4 separate regions of the Homo sapiens genome follow, and all the other regions are linked to region 3. Evidence: promoter capture Hi-C in 16 types of primary human blood cells and fetal thymus (Javierre and others, 2016). All regions are on one chromosome and are shown on one strand. The core of a region is centred on a gene start or on the middle of the fragment in contact, and the rest is flanking DNA. Distances in the headings are between cores, read along the strand shown. Region 1 overlaps RTEL1 (regulator of telomere elongation helicase 1). Region 2 overlaps RTEL1 (regulator of telomere elongation helicase 1). Region 3 holds the start of DNAJC5 (DnaJ heat shock protein family (Hsp40) member C5). Region 4 overlaps ARFRP1 (ARF related protein 1).

Region 1 (2,727 bases), core at 188-2,687, 230 kb after region 3:
GGCCTCCCCACCAGGTCCCAGGCCCAGCATCCCCACCAGGTACCAGGCCCAGCGTCCCCACCAGGTCCCAGGCCCAGCAGCCACCGGGGCACTGCCCTTGTCCAGGACCACGGCCGGCCAGGCCCATGCTCAGCGTTCCATGCTATCCCAAGGACCCCCGCTGCATGGGACTGGGGACACCCAGCAGGCACTCCTGTCCTGGAAATCCAGGTGAGGACCTCGGAAATGACGCCTGCTTGAGAATTTCCATCAGCACATCTGCCCAACCCCCCGTCCCAGAGTCACGTCCTGCAGGCATCACCGGGACGAGCCGGCAGCTCCTGTCAGGGAACCTGGGGGCACAAAGGCAGAGCCCCTTCTTAGGACCAACAAAAAGGCCTGGACAACCACACATCAAGATGACTGAGGGTCCTTGGTGCCACCAGACCAAAAACCACAGCGAACAAGAAGCAACACAGAGGATGTCTCCAGCAACACAGCACATGCCTCCAGTAAGCGGGAGCCTCCCTGCAGGCCCATGTTCCGCCCACCCTGTCCCTCCAAGGGCCAGGGCCCAGAAACGCCTGGTAGTGGGTCATGCGGGACCACCTGGCTCAGTCTCTGCCAGGGGAGCGCCGCCCTAAATACAAGAGCAGCTTCAGGGTCCTCAGTCCTGGCACACTGAGCACTCAGCAAACGTGAGTGCAGAAAGCAGCCCACAGGACCGCCGATGCCTTCTGAGTGCTCCGGGGCCACCTCACCTGAGGCTTGAGCCCCAACTGAGGCAGGAAACAGAGGGAACCCTGATCCCACAGAAGCACAGACCGCGCCGACTGCACAGATGCCACCCTCAGGTCACAGAAACTGTAAGGGCAGCCAACGGGGGTGCACCCTGCCACTGTCTCTAGGACCCCGTGATGAGCCCCAGAAGCCCTTGACATACCCGAGGGGCAGCCACGTGGGTGGAGAAGCACCCCCGGCCCTCACAGGCTGTGGCCACGTGCAGTCACAGGGCAAGCTGCCCCGGCCGGCTCCTGTCACTCACATCCCGTCTCCAGAAGAGGCCCCAAGGCATCCCGTGTTGGACCCACAGGACTCAGCCTGGAGTCACACTCAGGGCCATAATTTTCCGCAGCAAGGTCAGCACAGGAAAAAGACACACGGGGCAGGGTCGCGGGAGGCCAGACACGGCTTCCAGGACACCCTCCCAAGATGGTATGAGGGCCGGTCACTGGAGCACCTGCTGCTGGGCAAGCAACAAAGTCCCCGAAGAGAAAGCCGGTGTTCAGCAAAACCCCTACTGTTTGCACCAGCAGGTTAGGTGCAGGGAGACCCTCTCATCAGGAAATGGAGGGAGCCTTCCCAAAATCCAAGGCCCCAGGCACCAGCCAGAGGCAGTCTTGCCGGCTGGCTGTCTCAGACCACTGTGTGAGCTCTTCCACACAGAAGTCTAACATGGGTGGCCCCGAGTCAGAAGACAGGGCCCAGGTACATGGCCGCACTGGCCGCCCCACCGGGCAAGCACAACCAGGCTGTGACACCACTGAGCTCCACCCTGAGAGGCTGCACACACTCCAACCCGACCCTGGTCCCACCCAGCTGCTTGTACCTTCTACGTTGTTGTAGAAATGACAGGAGCGACTTGCCACCTTCTTACGGCACAAGTGGATCTGTGGGAGGAAGGGCAGAGTGCGCAGCTGAAGCACGGCCAAGAAAGGACCGAAGCCAGTCCCCACCCCCACCAGGTCCTCCCCTGCAGTCCCCCAGTGAACTTCAAACCCTAGCCCAGCGGGAGCGCAGCCTGGGGCTCTGGACACCCAGCAGCACTCGCCTGTCGGACACTGAGCCGGAGCGGGAGCCCAGGAGCCTACCTGTAGATGGTTACTCTCTTGTTTCTTCACCTCAGGATGGATGCACAGCTGCTCCCGGGAGCCCAGCACACACACCTTAGGCCTGGTGGGAGAGAGCACCGTGGGTCGAGGAGGAGCTGTCTCCAACACCCACAGCGTGGCCCTGCAGCGTGAGCTGTATGGAGACACGCAGGAGCCTCGGCGGTCAGAGGAAGTGAGCATAACTGAAACGTGGCCCGGGCGTAGGAGGGAGCTAGAAGACGAGCGGGGGTACTGGACAGAGGGAGGAGATTCGACAGCTTCCACAGCACCCTGCCACTGGTCCGGCCACAGGAACCCGACAGAACACCAAGACTCTGCTGGGCTCTGACAAGCAGCAGGGCCTCCTCCTACTTCATGTGCAAAGCTGCACTGGGGGCCAGCCCTGACCTACTGCACAGCTGCTACAACAGCACCTGCGAGGAGCTCAGGACGCCCGCCCAAGGTCAGCACACAGATGCAAAGCTGCTTCCTCACAAGTAATGGGCATTGGAGGCAGCCCAGGCCGCACCCCACCCCTGGGCACCAGCGCTCTGCACACTTCGGGGGAGCGTCTAGAAAGACCACCACCCTCCACCACAGCACAGCATGGGGCTGTGGACTCAGCACCATGCCAAGCTGGTTCTCTTGAGGACCCCGAGACAGGTGTAAACTCGTCTGACCCACCGGTAGGAGGTGTTCCGAAGCTCGTTGATGACCTGTGTGAGTTGCGAGTGGGTCCTGGAGGCGTAAATAATCTTTGGGATGTCCGTGTAGCAAGCTGACCAGACACAAGCAAGCACAGAAGTCACGGTTCTCAGACAACGTTCTCACGTATCAAAGGCAGGTGGCATTCGGCTAACTCGGCCCTGCAGACAGC
Region 2 (3,091 bases), core at 5-2,504, 210 kb after region 3:
TCACCGGCCCCTGCCATCATGCAGCCCCAGGCCAATGGACAGGAGCTGGCACCTGCCTGACCCTTTCTCCTCCCTGCAGGGACCCCCGGTGAGCTCTGTGTTCCCCCAACATAGGCCATCTCCATGCACTGAAAATGCGGCAGCCCGAGGGGCCTCTCCTCCCGCCAACTGGCCCAGCCCTCCTCTCTGTGCCCCTGAGGGCCCCAAATTAATCTAGAAATTCAACATGGCCTAGTGCAGTGGCTCAGGCCTGTAATCCCAGCACTCCGGGAGGCTGAGAGGAGCAAACTGCCCGAACCCAGGAGTTCGAGACCAGCCTGGGCAACATGGTGCAACCCCAGGGTGTTCACCAAAAAAAAAAAAAAAAAAACCTAGCCGGGCATGGTGGCATGTGCCTGTGGTCCCAGCTACTTGGGAGGTTGAGCTGAGAGGATCCCCTGAGCCCAGGAGGTTGAGGCTGCAGTGAGCTGTGATGGTCCCACTGCACTCCAGCCTGGGCAACAGAGAGACCCTGACTCAAAAAAAAAACAGGAATTCAACACATTCTAGTCAAAATCACAGTAAGATTTTTACAGGAAGTAGACACGCTGACTCCAAGATGCACTATGGAAAAAACGTCAGGGCAGGTTTCAAAAGAACAAGAGGCCGGGCGTGGTGGCTCACACCCGTAATCCCAGCACTCTGGGAGGCCAAGGTGAGAGGATCACCTGAGGTCAGGAGTTCGAGACCAGCCTGGCCAACATGGCAAAACCCCATTTCTACTAAAAATATCAGGCTGGGCACGGTGGCTCATGCCTGTAATCCCAGCACTTTGGGAGGCGGATCACGAGGTCAGGAGATCGAGACCATCCTGGCTAACACGGTGAAACCTCGTCTCTACTAAAAATACAAAAAATTAGCCAGGCGTGGTGGCAGGTGCCTATAATCCCAGGTATTTGGGAGGCTGAGGCAGGAGAATGGCGTGAACCCGGGAGGCGGAGCTTGCAGTGAGCCGAGATCGCGCCACTGCACTCCAGCCTGGGCAACAAGAGCAAAACTCTGTCTCAAAAACAAACAAAAAGAAATTGGTTCAGGCCAACACCAGGACTTACGACAAAACCACAGTGAACAAAAACATGAGGAAAAGTGTGGCAGGTGCCCAGTGGAGTTGGGGGAAGCCGAGCCGCTCGGTCAGCGCACAGAACCACCGGTGTGGCGTGCTGGGAAAAATCAAGGTAGAGTCTGCCTTTCACACCCCCACAGGTGACGTCAGAAGGCATGGAGGCCCAGACACAAAGCTCCGTCACTCTACAGTGCAGTTTGGAGAATACACAAGACCCGGTTTAGCATCTTGGTCGGGAGGCACAAGCTCAGAACAAAAATCTGACAAGGAAACATGTGTTCACCAAACCTGTCATGAAAATGGAAAAAATGACCAGCATGAGACAAGGAAAGAATATGTATGTCGGCATGGGATCCTCAGAACTTAGAGAGAGAATATGTATATGGGATCCTCAGAACTTAGAGAGAGAATATGTATATGGGATCCTCAGAACTTACAGAGAGTATATGTATATGGGATCCTCAGAACTTACAGAGAACCCTGCAAATCAATGGGAAAGGAATGATGCCTGCACTAGGAGAGGAGCGCGTGACGACCGTTCCTGGAAAACGAGCCAAAAACGGCCAGAACAGGAACGCAAAGCCCCCAACAGGCTCAGCAATGTGGCCATGTCAGCCAAGCCACCGCCGTCAGAGCCCCGCCGCAGACTTGAGGGAGTTCTGCTGGGAACACCAAGAAGCCGGAATCATTCACAGAAATGCGGAGAAGCCGAACTAGAGAACACCGGGGGGCAGACACCACGGCTGGAACACAGAGACTTGGCAACATGCGTGGATTTGTGCAGGCGTGCGTGCGTGTGTGCGTACTCTGCATGCATGTGCACGTGCCTGGGTACGCACAGAAGGAGAGAGAAATTTCCTTCCGTTCCTTCCTTCCTTCCCAGCCATTTTCACTGTCAAGACAGCTAAACACAGGGCCTTGTGTTTTACCAAAGCATTTGGCCCACGGGGATGGAAGTAACAGAACAAGTTCACCCCCACGCTGGTGGCTGCCATGAGCAGGGCTGAGTCTGCCTCAGGAAACAGCTTCCTTCGAAAAGCCTTCTGCTGGGCAGGCATGGAAGCTCTTGCCTGTAATCCCAGCACTTTGGGAGGCCAAGGCGGGCAGACTGCCTGAGCCCAGGAGTTTGAGACCAGCCTGGGAAACATGGCAAGACCTCATCTCTACAAAAAAATTTTAAAAATTAGCTGAGTGCGGTGGTGCACACCTGTGTTCACAGCTCCTCGGGTGGCTGAGGCAAGAGGATCACTTGGGCCCAGGAGGTTGAGGCTGCAGTGAGCTGTGATCAAGCCCCTGCACTCCAGCCGGGGTGACAAAGCGAGACCCTTTCTCAAAAAAACACCACCACAAATCCCCCTGTGCCTCAGCCCAGGGCAGCTCCGGCCTCAGGCAGAGAGGGATGAGGACCCAGCAGTCTCACGGGGGCCCAGGGGCAACTGGTTCCCCAACACGGGCCAGCACTGCCCAGAGTTTGCCTCCAGCTAAGCCCTGACTTCCGAGCACACGGCCTGACCCTGCCTGGAGTTCGCCTCCAGCTGAGCTGTGCATCCCACATCCTCTTCCTGGGGCCACTGGCCCCACTCTGCCCCCAGGGTCACCTGTGACTCAGGGCTGCAGGCCCAACCCAGCACCAGCCCTATGGGCACCGCCCACACCTGCAGGGGCTCAGGAGCCAACGCGGGTGAGCACTGTGTGCAGTCCCTCATCCTCCAGGCACCCGAGGGCTGGCAGAAGCTGAGTCATCCACCAGCGGCTACTTAGAGCAGCAGCCAAAGGAAATTCCAAACCGATGGAGTGTGCAGGATTCGGTTCCAGAGTGTGGAGTCTTCTCCTTAAGTGGGGGCCTGGGAGGCCACGTTCCAGGATCCGGTTCCAGAGTGTGGAGACTTCTCCTTAAGTGGGAGGCTGGGAGGCCGCGTTCCAGGATCCGGTTCCAGAGTGTGGAGTCTTCTCCATAGCTGGGGGCCTGGGAGGCCGCGTTCCAGGATT
Region 3 (2,876 bases), core at 106-2,605:
CCAGGGGTGTCCCTCAGAGTCCACACAGCCAGCAACCAGAGCGGGCCCCTACAGCTCTCTGCTGGGCCAGACGCCAGCTGGAGCCACCCCGAGTCCTACAGCACCGACACAAGTGAAAGGGGAACTCAACCGAAACTTCCCCAAAGCCCTTAGATCCAGGCTTCTAATTTCATCTCTTGTTTGACAGACTACTCATTCCTGAAACTCAGCTGACATTTTTTTAAAAAGAGAAGCAAATAAACGAACATAAAATCTCAGAAGCTTTGAGTAAACTTTTGCCTTCAGGTAACCATGACAATAGTGGGAGCAATGTAACTGTTTTTGTCATTAGAATAGGTTTTTCTAAACAGGCAAATAAGGGCAGACGTGTCTAACCACCATCAAATCTTCCCAACCAAGCCTAAGCCGGAAAACAAAAATAAAGCTGAAATTTTTGCTTCCTTTTCCTGTATGACACAACTGAATGAATTTGAGAAATCATGGCTTCGGCACACGAAAAAGAGAGTCTTTAATCCAGACACTTAACACCAACAAGTTAGAACCTGAACGGACGAGTTCCTAATACTCTCCTTAAGAGTTCAATATAAAGCATGGCTTCAAATGTTTTTATAAAGCGGAGAAAACAGGTTTTTTCTAACAAACCAAATGCTTTTTGGAATTTACAACGTCGGAAAGATTAATTTACGATGCGTTACAGAACAATTTTCAATTCCCCGAGCTATAAACACAACGACCCAGGGACTAAATTATCTGCCTCCCTAAGACCAGCGATGGCCCAGCTTCTCCAGTCCCCCCGCAGGAGAGGAGACCCCGGGGGGTTGGGGGCGGCCGCGGGGACCTGGGGGAGCGGAGGGGGCGTCCGGGCCCGAAGAGACCCGCGGAGAGCGCCGCCCCAGCCCCCACCACGGTGCTCAGACCCCCGGCCCGGCCCGGCCCGGCTCCCGCAGGCCCCGGCGCCGACCTTCCCGCGCCCCCGCCCCGGCCCAGGCCGCGGCGTCGCAGCAGCTCCGGCCCCGAGCGCCCGCGCAGCCCCGGCCCGGGGGTCGCCGCCATTTCCGGCTCTGGAGTGCCGCCCCCGCCCCCCACCCGCGCCCGCCCGCCCGCCTGCCCGGGCCTGACGTGGGCCGATCCGCCCGCCCGACCCGCAGCGAGCTCACCTGCCCGTCCGCCCGCCCGCCCGCCCTCCCGCCGGCTCCGCGGCTCCGCTCCCCGATTCGCGGCGCTGCTGGGCAGCGGCCGACGCACTCCTCAGCCTGGAGACCCCGGGCGGCGGCGGCGGCGGCGGCAGAGGGCGCGGGTGCGGCACCGGCAGCGGCAGCGGCAGCGGCAGCGGAGACGAGCACGCTCACGCACGCACCCGCACCGGCGCGCGCGCTCCCGGAAGGACGTGGGCTCCGGCGTGTCGGAGCCGCGGGTGGGACCGGCTGCGCATGCGCTCAGAGAGCCGAGCGGAGGCTCCGTCCATGAAGGGGCGGAGTCCCGAGTGACAGCCCGGGGCCGAGGCGCCCTGTGGAGGCTCCGCCCATGAGTGGGCGGGGACGAAGCGCGGGGGCGGAGCCAGTCCTCCCAGTCTTCAGGTGGCCGCAGGTGGGTCCCGGGTGGACACGCCATGTGCTGCGGGGAACCGCGCAGAAAGAGAAGCGCAGGGCTTGCTGGTCTTGCAGGTGAGTTTACTCAGCGCTTTAAGTAAGACTGAGAAAACGTAATCGTTCTCATCAAAGAACTGAACAGGGAGCTGGTGGGAGACGGCTGCGGACCGTCGCCCCCGCCCCCACCCGGAGCCACCGTCCTGGGACTGACATTTGCTCAACCCTGGAGCGCCGAGATGGGACGTCCTTCCTTCCTTCCTGTCCAACCACTGAAATGCCGTCGCCAGCGCCCTCCCACCCTCCCGGAATCATCTCCAAACAGCAGCGTGGAGAGGCAGGACCACGAACGTCCACTCCACCTCCCTCTGCCCTTGCCCATCCCGTCGGCCACCCTTCCCTGTCCCTGTAACTGCAGGCGCTCCGCCACTCACTGACGGCCTGCCCCGCGTAGGCTGCCTGGGCCACTTCCCATCCTAGAAGCTCCCAGACCTCTGCGGCCGGTGCTCCTGCCTCCTCGCTTCCACCCTTGCCCGTTTACCTGAGTTCAGTGCGGTCATCTTTTTAAAACAAACCCAGTAGCATCCAAGGCTTCCCGTGACACACTGCGTGAAACCCAAATTCTCTCTCAACACGCTCTGGCCTCCTTCCTCTGCCCTCATAACTCACTGCCATAATGCCGGTCTTGAATTGCCAAGCTTGTTCCAGTCTCACAGCCTGGAAGTGTCAGAGCTTGGGAAGCCTCCTAGCAGTCATTAAGCTGCGCAACATCAAGCAGGCAGCAAGAAAAGGCCTATGGAACCCAAGAAGCAGAAAGGCCAGGTTCATATCTACAACTATAGATTCCAAGAGAATGAAATATTTCAGGCCAGAATTGGAGGGATGAGAGAATGAAATGGGCCTGGTACCGATCTCAGATTGAAGCTATATTCCACTTGTGCTGGGAGCTGCAAGAATGAATGAACCAGCCTTAAGTGAGTCCCTCTGAGACCTAGCAGTTCCACTTTAGGGACATTCTTCCAAAGAAAATATTCCTAAATACAGAAAAAGGTATATGCACTGAAATATTCATGAAGGCACTATTTTTAATAGCGAGAATGGAAACCTGCCCAACTGCACAAGTGAGCACTCAAATGGAATAATATAGTTACTGAAATGTATACAACGGGACCCATGGCTCACGCCTGGAATCTCAGCACTTTGGTAGACCAAGGCAGGAAGATCACTGGAGCCCAGGAGTTTGAGACCTGCCTGGACAACATAGTGAGACCACCATCTCTATAAAAAAAA
Region 4 (2,817 bases), core at 251-2,750, 190 kb after region 3:
CTGTGGGACAGCTGTGGGATGGCAGCCCCATCTCCTGCCCACCAGGGTCTCCTAGACATGAGGTGCAAGTCATGCCCATGAGGCAGCTGTGGCTCGTCATTCAGCGTGTCTGCTGAGTATGTGCTGCTCTAGTGGCCGGGACCCCTGACCCTGCTGAGCTCAGAGCTGGGAGGATCAGCTGCAGGGACCCCCCTAGGTCACTGGGAGGGACCGGAAGGGAGGCCCCTGCTCCCACCCTGGTTTCCTGTATCCTGCATCCTTGTGCAGAGCCAGCACCACAGAAAGGGGCGTCATTGCGAATTGGCCTCGTCCTGGGGCTGGACCCTGGGTTGGTGTCCACATGTGTGGCATGTGCCAGGACCTCAGCTCCTGGGTTCTTTGCTGTAACACTAGTCTCTCAGGCTGGCTGGCACTTTGCAGTTGGGGAGCTCCCATTGCTGCTGGGGAGAAAAACTCAGACCCACAGTCCCTCTGACTGCTCCACTGGGGTCAGCTGGCCAGCCAGGAGCCACGCTTGGACACCTCCCTCTTCCCCCTCCTTGTGGGGCACCCCACAATGACCACTGCTGTGACGCCTCCACTGGGGCGTGGGGCTCTGGGTCCTGCCCGCACTCAGCCCTGAGGTGTCGCTCCCGTCCACTGCGGCCCTGCTGGGCTGTGCACCTTGTGCCTGGTAGGTGTGATGGGTGGCTCTGGCCACGTGGTCCCATGGTCCAGGACCCGGTTGCACATGAACCTTCTGCCACCCTGCTCAGAAGCCCCAGGAGCCACGTGGAGATTCTCTCACTGGGCTTGCTGCAGCCTCCACAGAGCCGCCCCTCCTGCCACAGAGGTCTCCACCTTAGGGTCCGCCTGCTCCCTTGTGTCAGCAGCAGACAGCCGGCACACTGCAGGGTCCCTTGAGGGGTTGGCGGCCTCTGTGTGGGACCTGTCTGTAGGCCAGAGAAGTTCCTGGGGGTGGGGGGGCCTCGCTACCTGCAGAACCCTGGAGGGCGCCTGGCCTTGGGCCTCCTCTCCACTGTGGGAAGTTCCTGGGGGTGGGGGGGCCTGGCCTTGGGCCTCCTCCTTTCCACTGTGGGAAGTGCAGGTGCACAGGCTTCTCTCCTCTGTGGGAAGTGCAGGTGCACAAGCTTGTCTGGCACTGGGATGGGGTTGTCTGGTACTCCCTGCTCAGACACCCTAAGGATTTCGGAGAGTTGGGCTGTGCCTCCTGGCTTCTCATGCTCTCGGGTGTGTGTGTCTTAACACACTGACCACCAGCTTGTCCTACCTGGTCAGCATCCAGTTCTAGGTCTCTGGGCACTCATGCCTGGACAGGAGAGCTGGCACAGCCTGGAGGCAAAGTGGCAAATGTGAGCTGTTGTCTGCTCCACGTGGACGCGGAGTTTGCTGTGTTTTTTTCTGATTGAGATAGAGGTGCACTCATCTGGTCCAGGGCTCAGCACTTGTACCTGAGGCTGCAGGGGCTGTGCCCTGTCTTGCCCAGGAGTGTTGCCAGCGAGCCCAGGACTGACCAGCCCAGGCTGCAGAGGTCTGAGCTCAGTGACTCTGGCCCTGTCCTGGCAGGGAAGGCTCGCTTCGTAGATGGCGCTGGTCAGTCTTATCCGCATGGCCACACTCCCTCCCTGTGCGAGGTGCTGGCACAGAGCCCCACAGGTGCACTCCCTCAACGGGCCAGGCTGTGGTCTAGGTTCCTCCAGCCCCCAAACCCTATCTTTTTTTTGAGACAGGGTCTCTCATTCTCACCCAGGCTGGAGTGCAGTGGTGTGATCAGAGCTCACTACAGCCTCAACCTCCCAGGCTCAAGCCATCCTCCCACCTCAGCCTCCCGAGTAGCTAGGACTGCAGGCGCACATTACCATAAGCTTTTGTACAGACGGAGTCTCACTGTGTTGCCCAGGTTGGCCGTGAAGTGGGCTCAGGTGATCCTCCTGCTTCTGCCTCCCAAAGTGTTGGGATAATAAGTGTGAGCCACCACGCCTGGCCCAATCCCTGTCTTTCACCTTTGGCCACCATCAGGCCAAAGGTTGCCGGCAGGTTCTCAGGAGCAGCGTCTGGGGACACCTCCACCAGATCTCCCCGCAACCCCAGAATGCATCCCAGAAGGGTCTTGCAGTTGGGGGCTGCCCTCTTGCCCCTTCCTCATGTGAGCCCCTCACTGTGGCCATGACACAGGCCTGGCTCTGCTGGCCCTTGGCAGGGTGGGGACTGAGCCCCAACTCCTGGTGCTTCCTCCCAGTATTATGCGGAGTGTCACGGCGTCATCTACGTCATTGACTCCACCGACGAGGAGAGGCTGGCTGAGTCCAAGCAGGCGTTTGGTGAGTGCGGCCTGGCTGCTCTGGGAGGGATGGATGGTGAGTGGGGGCAGGTCCAGCTTGGGCAGCTCTGTGCCTGGGGCAGGCTCAGTGTCTGGTCAGAAGTGCTCCTGCCTAGTGGGTGACGGGGGGGGGGGGGGCAGAGGGAGTGGCTGTCACAGTGTCCACGCCTGTGGGCCCCTGGGCAGTCAGAGGCAGGATGCTGGGTGTGAGGCGCTGCCTCTCCTGCCCTCCCCAGAGAAGGTGGTGACCAGCGAGGCGCTGTGCGGTGTCCCCGTCTTGGTGCTGGCCAACAAGCAGGATGTGGAGGTGAGCCCCACCCCTGCCTCCCGCAGCAGCTTCCCGAGTCCCCAGCCTCCCCCACAGCAAGGGGAGCAGGTGTGCACCCAGACACCCCAGGCCCAGTGACTGCCCAGGGGGTACAGAGCCATTCTCAAGGCCTGCCCTGCCCCCAGCAGCTTCCCAAGCCTGGTTCCTCTCCAGACCTGCTGCTGCCAGC

What was found. Contacts are between HindIII fragments. The CHiCAGO score rates a contact against its expected background, and 5 or more counts as called.
Region 1: a contact is called between a fragment that was not itself captured here and the fragment with the promoter of DNAJC5 in region 3, in 3 of 17 cell types (neutrophils, monocytes and naive CD4 T cells). The highest score is 5.4, in neutrophils.
Region 2: a fragment that was not itself captured here is called in contact with the fragment with the promoter of DNAJC5 in region 3 in 1 of 17 cell types (monocytes); the score reaches 6.9 in monocytes.
Region 4: a contact is called between a fragment that was not itself captured here and the fragment with the promoter of DNAJC5 in region 3, in 4 of 17 cell types (monocytes, naive CD4 T cells, naive CD8 T cells and 1 more). The highest score is 7.7, in monocytes.

Annotation. Positions count from the first base shown.
Region 1 is chr20:63,661,751-63,664,477 of GRCh38, reverse strand. RTEL1 (regulator of telomere elongation helicase 1) reads right to left here. Exons shown (of 35, transcript NM_001283009.2): 4 at 2,535-2,628; 5 at 1,851-1,932; 6 at 1,589-1,649. RTEL1-TNFRSF6B (RTEL1-TNFRSF6B readthrough (NMD candidate)) reads right to left here. Exons shown (of 38, transcript NR_037882.1): 4 at 2,535-2,628; 5 at 1,851-1,932; 6 at 1,589-1,649. Among named protein-coding and RNA genes, the nearest start is that of RTEL1, 4.8 kb to the right of the region's middle. The HindIII fragment of the contact is 3,638 bases long and covers 1-2,727 here.
Region 2 is chr20:63,682,325-63,685,415 of GRCh38, reverse strand. All of the region lies in intron 14 of RTEL1 (regulator of telomere elongation helicase 1), which reads right to left. The region is part of intron 14 of RTEL1-TNFRSF6B (RTEL1-TNFRSF6B readthrough (NMD candidate)); the gene reads right to left. Among named protein-coding and RNA genes, the nearest start is that of TNFRSF6B, 13 kb to the left of the region's middle. RefSeq lists enhancers at 1,253-1,977, 2,704-3,091. The HindIII fragment of the contact is 9,518 bases long and covers 1-3,091 here.
Region 3 is chr20:63,893,605-63,896,480 of GRCh38, reverse strand. DNAJC5 (DnaJ heat shock protein family (Hsp40) member C5) reads right to left here and starts at 1,355. Exons shown (of 5, transcript NM_025219.3): 1 at 1,158-1,355. RefSeq lists a silencer at 1,274-1,513, enhancers at 1,513-2,040, 1,973-2,142 and a cis regulatory region at 2,057. The HindIII fragment of the contact is 2,023 bases long and covers 264-2,286 here.
Region 4 is chr20:63,701,640-63,704,456 of GRCh38, reverse strand. ARFRP1 (ARF related protein 1) reads left to right here. Exons shown (of 8, transcript NM_001267547.3): 5 at 2,240-2,321; 6 at 2,557-2,627. Among named protein-coding and RNA genes, the nearest start is that of ARFRP1, 4.9 kb to the left of the region's middle. The HindIII fragment of the contact is 735 bases long and covers 1,133-1,867 here.